3 separate regions of the Homo sapiens genome follow, and all the other regions are linked to region 3. Evidence: promoter capture Hi-C in 16 types of primary human blood cells and fetal thymus (Javierre and others, 2016). All regions are on one chromosome and are shown on one strand. The core of a region is centred on a gene start or on the middle of the fragment in contact, and the rest is flanking DNA. Distances in the headings are between cores, read along the strand shown.

What was found. Contacts are between HindIII fragments. The CHiCAGO score rates a contact against its expected background, and 5 or more counts as called.
Region 1: a fragment that was not itself captured here is called in contact with the fragment with the promoter of IKZF2 in region 3 in 1 of 17 cell types (naive B cells); the score reaches 5.8 in naive B cells.
Region 2: a fragment that was not itself captured here is called in contact with the fragment with the promoter of IKZF2 in region 3 in 1 of 17 cell types (fetal thymus); the score reaches 5.9 in fetal thymus.

What each region holds. Positions count from the first base shown.
Region 1 is chr2:214,819,676-214,823,149 of GRCh38, forward strand. All of the region lies in intron 1 of SNHG31 (small nucleolar RNA host gene 31), which reads left to right. Among named protein-coding and RNA genes, the nearest start is that of SNHG31, 11 kb to the left of the region's middle. The HindIII fragment of the contact is 486 bases long and covers 1,863-2,348 here.
Region 2 is chr2:214,680,450-214,683,463 of GRCh38, forward strand. No RefSeq gene overlaps it. Among named protein-coding and RNA genes, the nearest start is that of BARD1, 130 kb to the right of the region's middle. The HindIII fragment of the contact is 945 bases long and covers 997-1,941 here.
Region 3 is chr2:213,149,646-213,152,861 of GRCh38, forward strand. IKZF2 (IKAROS family zinc finger 2) reads right to left here and starts at 1,967. Exons shown (of 9, transcript NM_001387220.1): 1 at 1,768-1,967; 2 at 499-602. RefSeq lists silencers at 2,058-2,117, 2,198-2,557. The HindIII fragment of the contact is 7,158 bases long and covers 1-3,216 here.

The DNA.
Region 1 (3,474 bases), core at 856-3,355, 1.7 Mb after region 3:
GTGCACCAAAATCTCAGAAATCACCACCAAAGAACGTATTCATGTAACCAAAACCACCTGTTTCCCAAAAACTATTGAAATAAAATAAAATACATTTTAAAAATGTTTAAAAAGTATGTCATGTCTATAGATGTTGTATTGTGAATAGGTACAAAAATTGGTGATATATATCTATATCTATCTATATAGGTAGATATAGATATAGGTATTTTTGAGAGGGAGTCTCACTCTGTGCCCAAGCTGGAGTGCAGTGGTGCCATCTCGGCTCACTGCAATCTCCGCCTCCTGGGTTTAAATGATTCTCCTGCCACCACCTCCCAAGTAACTGGGATTGCAGGCACCTGCCACCACACCCAGCTAATTTTTGTATTTTGGTAGAGACGGGGTTTCACCACGTTGGCCAGGCTGGTCTCCAACTCCTGACCTCAAGTGATCCGCTCACCTTGGACTCACAAAGCGCTGGGATTACAGGCATGAGCCACTGCACACAGCCTAAAATTGGTGACATATTCTTTCAGTATTCAACTTGCAAGCAAGTCACATCATTGATGAACAAGTTTCACTTCTGTCTGACTCTAATACAAATATCAACCAACATATATGTTGCAACTACACTCAGAATGCTCATTGTTCAACATTTACCAGCATGTCAGTGCATCTACCTATTATGTCCAGTTGTGTCTACCCTGCCTACCACCGTGTGGAAATCTCAGGCTGTGTTTGACATTTAGTCGCAAACACAGTGCTGTTGGCACAACATGGGATCCAGACTTTGCCTCCTCTCAGGATCTGTCACTGAGCTCCATAGTGATGTTTACTGCCTAGACTCAGAAGCTTGGCATGCTGGCTGGGCACAGTGGCTCACGCCTGTAATCGCAGCACTTTCGGAGGCTGAGGCAGGCGGATCACCTGAGATCAGGAGCTCGAGACTAGCCTGGCCAACATGGTGAAACCCCATCTCTACTAAAAATACAAAATTAGCCGAGCATGGTGGCGCGTACCTATAATCCCAGCTACTCGGGAGGCTGGGGCAGGAGAATCATTTGAACCTGGGAGGTGGAGACTGCAGTGAGCCGAGATCATGTCATTGCACTCCAGCCTGTGCAAAACGTGAAACTCCTTCTCAATAAATAAATAAATAAAAGAAGCTTGAAGCTTGGCATGCTCTGAGGTCATGAGCTCCTCGCTCCTTCAAGCCCCTCAACCCCTCCAGTCCAAAACTCTCCCTAGGTGCTGCCTTTACAAGGTACTCCATTTCCACACAGCTCTACTAAAATAGGGATTGTGGCTTTTCCCCATTTTTGTGTCTACTCAAATAATTTAGTGCTGCCAATGCCTTCATTATTTCTCAGAAGCATGCAAAATTGGCTCTTATGGTTTTGTGCTTTTTCCATTCATATCACAAATCCATGAGGGGCTGGTTTGGAGGAACACTTTCTACCCCACTTTTCCTTCTTTATGTGTCTCACCAACTCGCACATTATATATTTAACTTGTGTAATTTATTATTTATATTTATTTATGCAACACCAGCTTCAAGAAAGCATCAATTGTTGTCTGTACATTGCTATATCCCCTGTACCTAGGACAGCACCAGGGATGTAATAGGTGTAGGAATGAATGAATGAGGACAGAGTGAAGACACATGCCGTAATCAAAATCAGCTTGGCCCTTAGATGCTAAGGTATTATTTCCAGACCAAAATTGCTCTTTTCTCTTAGGAGAAGGCTTCCCCACTGCCCCCAGAGATTTCCAGATAACCAACCCTTTTTGGGATGGTTTGTGCCCTTTAAGTTCTCTAAAATGACTAAATTTTTCTGGCTTTTGGTGAGTATTGCTTAGGTTTGTATAGGTGGAGAGAAAGCTTCCTCTCCACCTGCTGAAGTTTCACTGCAATAGACAGATTAATAGGATAAAAAGGCATACAAATTTATTGAACATGCATAAACATAGGAAACATTTAAAATACGAGATTCAAAGAAGAGCCAGATGGTTGATACTACCCTCTTCATAATAGACAAGGAAATATGAGATATAGTCAATCATGAGGAGTAGTAAATGATTTTCAGGGGAAATTAATGAACCCCAAGAACAATGGCCTGGGATGAAGTTTCTCAGAGTTCTGGGGGAGGTGGCAGGATGATGAGTGGCTGAACTTCACTGGGAAAATATGCAAATAGTCTTGTAGGTAAGTAATCTCTTGGAGCTGCCGTCAGAGAAGAGATGAAAAGCCTAGGCATGGTGCTGACTCCCAGTCAGTTCTCTTCTTCAATGGTTGAACTTTCCTGGTCATTTGATGAGATTTCTAGGAAGTGGGTCTTAAGACAATTGCATTTCTGTTGGAAAGAAGCTTCCTTAGTCAGATAAGGAAATCTTAGAATCTCTCTTGGTGCTTTGAGCAAGGAAAAAGGTCAGAGAGAGAGGGTGGTTGGGGAAGGTCAGAGAGAGACTTTAGTTCTGAGGCTTATTTCTGAGGCCTTTCAGTTTTCTTTAATTCAAAGCACTTAGCTTGCCAATGGGGCATATTTTAGGGTATTGTTTTCTGCACTCCAATAGATTCAATCTACTTCTTCTCTTCCCATTGTCTGAAGAAAAATAAAACCTAGGAGTGTATAAAATCAAAAGTTTAAAAAAATTCATTTTCTTAACATGTCAGACCAGATTTCTTTTGTGAGATGGTTTGGGAAAATTCTTGATTAGATGCTTGGCTAAGACTGGGTGTGATGGCTCACACCTGTAATCCCAGCACTTTGGGAGGCCGAGGTGGGCAGATCACAAGGTCAGGAGTTCGAGACCAGCCTGGCCAACATGGTGAAACCCCGTCTCTACTAAAAATACAAAAATTAGCTGAGCATGGTGGTGGGCACCTGCAATTCCAGCTACTCGGGAGGCTCAGGCAGGAGAATCACCTGAACCGGAAGGCGGAGGTGACAGTGAACCAAGATCACGCCACTGCACTCCACTTGGCCAACAAGAGCAAAACTCCATCTCAAAAAAAAAAAAAAAAAAAAAAGATGCTTGGCTAAGAGGGGAATTAGCAGAACCCAAAGTAACTTTCCATGAGGCAAAGAGAGAAATTAAGTTTAAGCCATGGGAAGGAGGAAGAGAGGAAAGAGGATGGTGGGGCAGAGAGAGGAATCAATATGTCATAATCATAGACTGGACTTGAATCGATTAAAAGCAGCCAGGGAAAATCCCAGGATTGGGGTGGCTGAGAACTTTAAGAACAAGAGTCCTTAATTATGGAATGTTTTTTAGCAGAATATAGGATTGCTATGGAAACAAATCTGAAGTCTGGATTTATGAGGGCTGGCCCCTGGAAAATGCCATGTTAGCCATGTAACTGAGTATAAAGGTGAAGATGTTTCTTGCCTCACCAGGCCTCTTTTGTACAAGTGAAGTAGCTGTATACATTATATATAGCTCATCATGATGTGATGAAAGAAAGGAGGGAGGGAAGGAGGAAAGAAAAGA
Region 2 (3,014 bases), core at 219-2,718, 1.5 Mb after region 3:
GAGACCATCCTGGCTAACACGGTGAAACCCCGTCTCTACTAAAAATACAAAAAAAATTAGCCGGGCGCGGTGGCGGGCGCCTGTAGTCCCAGCTACTCGGGAGGCTGAGGCAGGAGAATGGCGTGAACCCGGGAAGCGGAGCTTGCAGTGAGCCGAGATTGCGCCACTGCAGTCCGCAGTCCGGCCTGGGCGACAGAGCGAGACTCCGTCTCAAAAAAAAAAAAAAAAAAAAATTAGTCGGGCGTGGTGGCAGGCACCTGTAGTCCCAGCTACTCGGGAGGCTGAGGCAGGAGAATGGTGTGAACCCGGGAGGCGGAGCTTGCAGTGAGCTGAGATTGCGCCACTGCACTCCAGCCTGGGTGACAGAGCAAGACTCTATCTCAAAAAAAAAATAAAATAAAATAAATAAATACATAAATAAAAATAAAAAATAAAAAAATTAAACCCAGTAGTTCAAATTTTACTATCATGCCTTGTGCAGTGGATTGAATCTGTAATCCCAGCTACTTTGGAGGCTGAGGTTTTTGAGGCCAGGAGTTTGAGACCAGCCTGGATAATATAGCCTGGGCAATATAGTAAGATGCCCATTAACATTAAACATATATATATTTATTTAAATACATGTACACATATATATTTACTATCAGGTATATAAAGGAAAAAAAAACAGAGAAAATGTGTATATACTGGATGGAATTTTTTAAAATACAGATTTGTGTAACTTCAAACTCAGAGATTCTGATTTAAGAACTCAAGGTCAGACCCTGATAACTATAATTTTACAAATGTCTCATATGATTTTCATTCCAGTGCAGTCGCTGAAGAAAGCTGATGCTACTTGAAATTACCTTCAATTAGAAGGTTGGGTAGGAGAAGGCATAGAGAACAGAAGGAAATTGGTGAACCAGAAAAGCTGAGTACTCATCTCAAAAAGCATTTCTCTTCTGATCCTCTACCCATATATCCTGTAAAACTTGTACCAAAGGGAAACAAAAAAGCTTATATTTCACCTCAAGGCTAAAGAGAGGTGATCCAATATCCTGCAGAGTTTATGCTTTATTTTTCTGAGAAAGATCTCTCTGCAAAAGGACAAGACTTGAGAAGTGCATTTTGTTATAGAAGATGCAGAGTTCCAGGAAAAGCGAAATATGGTGGAGAGGTTAGTTAGTGGAAGAGAGTAGGAAGTGTGCCCTCCTGGAATCATATAAGGATGCATCCCATTCATTAAAGGCAACCCAAACCTTTGGAAGGATATTGATTGTCCTGTGCTTGATTAAACAAGGAGAAATCAGACCCTATTAAGTTGACGAATCTCTTTTCTAGCCAAATATTCTAAATTCTTCTACTATGGCATGCTGCCAGACACCCAGAATTTATAAAAATTTCTTCAAGAAAAGCTATGAATGTGATAGTAAAAAAGTGAGAGGATGGTAGGATGCTAATGGCTAATCATGCAGAAATTCTTTAAAAAATATTAGAATAATAACTTCCAGCTTATGCTCTTACTGAAAGAAAATTATATGTGAATCATAGTGACTGACTTAATGGATAATACTAATAAGAGAAATAAGCGTTAAAGCTGTTGAACACTGTATGCCGAACTCTGACGAAGCATTTTACATGTGTCTACTTATTTAAGTTCACAATAACCCTGTAAGGTAGGTTTAAGTGGTAAAGTAACATCCCCAGGTTCTTACATTTCGGGTCAGTTGTCAGAGAAAGAATTTGAATCTAACAGTCTGGCTTCAGAATCCATCTTTTTTTTTTTTCACGTTTAACCTACTTTTATTCATGCTTGCCTTGGGATGGTAAATAGATCACTCAGTAAAAACATACAGTAAAAACAAAATGTCTTATTATGTACAACCTTTAAACTACAATAATAATATGCCTTAATTACTTCTATGCACACCAGAATCCATCTTAACCACTAAACTTATAAGCTTTACGCTGACCACGGAAATGGAGAAAACACCATAAAAATATGACAAGATAGGGAAGGTCAACAGCTAGGACAAAAATAATAAGAATAGGTGAAGGATAGAGTAAAATGATAGGAATAATACTATTAACTTCAAATCTACTGGGACACAACATGAAAAATAACAGGCATAGGATTTTACAGCAAAATTACAGATGCTATCTTAGGTATCCCCAAGATATGGTGGCATGTAAATCATGGCTAGAATGTGGATAATGCAATAAACAGATCTAATAGAAAGAAGAAGAATTATAGTATCAAACACTCTGGAAACCAACACATTTTAAAGTGGATCATCTGGTGGAGAACATTTAGTTGAGAATTAACAGATAATTAAAAAGTAAAAACTTTGAGAAAGTAAAGAAAGATTGTAGAGCCTGACATAGCTACTATGTTTCTAGTGCTAATTATAAAACTCCCCAAATCTAGCAGTGATGGGCCTTCTTTGCTCCTCAGGAAGCAGATGCAGTGGAAAGAGTATGAGCACTAACATAGCACAAAACTGGGTTTAAATCCCATGTCTATCATTTATCATTTTGACTTTTTGCAAAACTACTGACATTTCCTGAGTCTCAACTGGAAAATGGGAACAATTTTCTTTACTATATTCTTTTGAAATAATTAATTCAAAATAACACATAAATACATTACAGGTCCACTAAATGTCAGTCTTCTTCTGCTGGAACTCTTGTTATGCTGAAAATAGAAAATATAATAAATGTTTGACTTTCTTTGCTAACCACACGGCCTCCTGAAGATGAAGGAGAAAAACCACCGTGTTGCACTGATTGCTGAACAATTAGAGAAACTGAAATTGAATCAGAAAAAATAAAGGATATTGTAGGTGGTGAAAACATAATGAAAACCTTGAGAAGATCTACCCACACCATCTTGGAATATGTGATAATAAACACAGGCGTGAGATGAAAATGAGCAATGGTATGTTCTATTAAATGCAAGTAATTTGTTTTCAGAGTAGGACCTACTTCACACTATAAATTATTAAAATTTCCTTTCAATATTTTCCCCTGTA
Region 3 (3,216 bases), core at 717-3,216:
TCGCCAAGTATATTTAGCCCTGGCTCCTGGAATTTCTCCATTACTTACTGGAAAACAGGCAGCTTCACTTCTTGTCTCCAAAACCACTTCCCTTCTCCCTCCCCTCCCCTTCTTCACCACCACACTCCCTTACCCCCCCCCCAAAAAAAAACTTTTATTTCTTTCTTTATGGAATAATCAGATCAAATTCCCAACTCAGTCACTACATAGCACTTAAATTTCAACCTGCTGTACTGTTATCACATTCTTTTAAATTATGATTACATAAGGCTTTAAAGAAAGAGATCCGTAAAGTTTAAAAGAGGAGCAGTTTCTTCGGATATTTTACAAATGAGCTTATCTCTTTAAAAATGTACACATTTAACACACACATATTAAAAAGAAAGAAACGTCAGGGAGAAGCGAAAGAAGGCTGCCCCATCAATGAAATGGTTATTAACCCTCAGAGAAGGAAAGAAGGAAAAAGAAAAAGGAGAAAGAGAAACGAAATGTACATACAAAAGAAATTGTCCTTTGATTAAAAAAGATTCATCACCATTTCCAGCTCTGTCGGGAGATCTCAGCTTCTTCTAACCCCTCAAAGAGGAGGTGACAATGTCGGGCTGAAGATAAACGGAGGGAGAAAGAAAGAAGTTTTTTGTGTTTCCCCCTTCTCTCTTTCCCTCCCTTGCCCCCTCCAAGCCAAGCCCCCTGCAGAGTTCAAGGGGAGGAGGAAGGAAAAGCACTTTACAGGTGGGTCATTCCAAGCCCAAATCCAGCAAACAGATCGGCTGATAAACAAAACCAAGAAATGAGAGAGAAGAACACCCCCCTCCTCCTCCTCCTCCTCCTCGTCCTCCTCCTCCTCCTCCTTCCACCCCTCCCCCTCGTCCCTTAGGGATGGTCTAGTAGGAAAAGTCACTCAGGAATGGCACCACGTACTTTCAGGAAAGAGGAAAAAAAAGAGAGAGAGAGAGGTCAGTCAGTGCTATAGCAATGCGATTAACAAGAGAAAAAACTTGATCCACCGGTTCCTTAAGAATCGACCAAAAGCTAAGACAAGAAAACTGAAAGAAAAGGGGGGGGGGGCGGGTAGAGGGGAGGGACAGTCAGGCAGAACCCAGCTAGGAACCCAGGCCAACTTCACAGGACTGTTTTTGGCCCTTGGCAAAAAAGAAAAAAAATAAATAAATCTTAATTCCATCTCTTTCGCCCATACTAGAACCTGTCAAAGTGATTTAACTGCTGCCTGTTTACATGTGTCATACCAGGGTTTTTGGTTTTTTTTTTTTTTTAATTCCAACAGGATCTGGATATTACCTTCTATCTGGACAGCTTCAATTTATTCCAGCCTACCCAATCTTTCTTCTTGGAATTCAAGTTAAAACAAAGCAAAACAAGTCCAAATTCATGACAGCTATAGAGATGAGAACTGATTAATCGATTAACATCCCAGAAACAGATTACAAGGAGGGGACGATAAATTAAGGCAGAGGACATCATCTTCAACCCGATTCCCTGAGCGTCCTTTACAAAAATCATTACCCTAATCAGAACCACAATCCATCCCTCCCAGAGAAAAATACCTATATTATTATTATTATTACTGGTTAACAGCAACAAGTCATTTGATCACATCACAGTGCAAAACGAGATGCTATATAATTACACTTAACTTTGAAAACACTCCCCCCTTTGCAAATCATACACATATTTATATATAATCTATGAATCAGAAGACAAAACAAGAGCTGTTCTTCACCACGCAAAAGCCAAGCGGAGATTTACCTCAGCAGTGCATGCAGTAAAATAATCCCATCACCCTTTTGTTTGTGTTTACTGTTAATGTGTCCTCTGTCTTTCTTTCTTTCCTGTGCCTAACGTGTGTTTGTGCACTGCAGTTGGTGGTGGAAACTAAGGCAGTGGATCTGTAGCTAAGGGTAATCCTGTTTTTACTTCCTCCATCTTCAGCGAGGAGCAGGGTTAGCCCGGGACAGCTGGTCAAACCCCGAGAAACCGATCCGGTGGAGCCCGAGCACATCTCCCCCGCCGGCCGGGCTCGCGCAGACGCCCGCGGGCGGAGGGCGGGCTGGCGGCGGCTGCGGCGGCGGCGGCGGCGGGCGGCTGGCGGCGGGCAGCGGAGCCCCGGGCGCGGGCGAGCGGACGTGCGTGCGCGCGCGTGCGTGTGTGCGGGGCCCGAGCGCCTGTGCGTGTGTGTATGAGAGCGCGTGTGCGCGCGCGCGCGGGCTGGCGGGCGCGTGTGCGCGTGTCTGCGCGCTAAGCCGCTCGGCGCGCTCGGCAATCGATTACAGGACAAGTGCTGCCCCGGAGGCTCCGCGACGCGCGCACTCCCTCGCGCCCACCCGCGCGCCCGGCCGCGTCGCCCCCAGCCCGTTGGTCCCCGGACTGCGGACCCCGCCCCCGACGGGGGCCAGGTAACCCGCTTCCGAGTGTGCCACGGCGACCCCCATCTCCCCTCCCCGTGTCATAATAAATCTCACGTTTTCTGCCGGCTGGAGGCTTGGAGCGGTGAGGTGACGTTCATTTCGGCCGCGTGAAGTTTTCTTTCAAACTGGGATTGGTGGGGAGGCCGGGGGAAGGGAGCGGGGCGGCGATCTTGGCGCCCTGCGCGGAGTCCGGGAGCCGCGTCCCGGCCGAGTCGGGGAGTGTGCGTGGAGCCTCCCACCTACTGGTCTCCGCCGGCAACTCTGCGGCCCCATTTCGGAAAGCGCACCGCATTGACCGGGACCTGAAGCGGGATAAGAGGGGTCCTGGGGAATAGACTGAGAAAGACATTCATGTCTGAGATGAAGCTCAACTATTACTATTTTGAAAGTGCTTTAACAGTGCAAGTTTAAAAACTAAAGTGTTGACTTGCTTTTTCTCCCCCGGGGCATGTGCCACGTCTTCCAAAGTCAAAGGAACGGATGAGTACAAAAAGTTGCTACCCTTGAAGTGTTACCTATCACTATCAACCACAGCTTGTTTATTTGGAAAGAACTTAAGTGAACCGTCAAGAGAAAAACAAATGCATATTCTTTCTACAAATAGTAGCATTTAGTATCTTTCCTGACCACATTTGCGAAAAGAGGGAATAGAGACTTCTATAATTAAAGGGAAAAGGAAAATGAAAGGAGCTGAAAATAGTGAACTGTGTAGTCTGGATGGCTGAAATTTGAAAACACATGAAATTATCAGGACTGCCAAACGGTGTTCCTGAGAAACCATATCACAGAT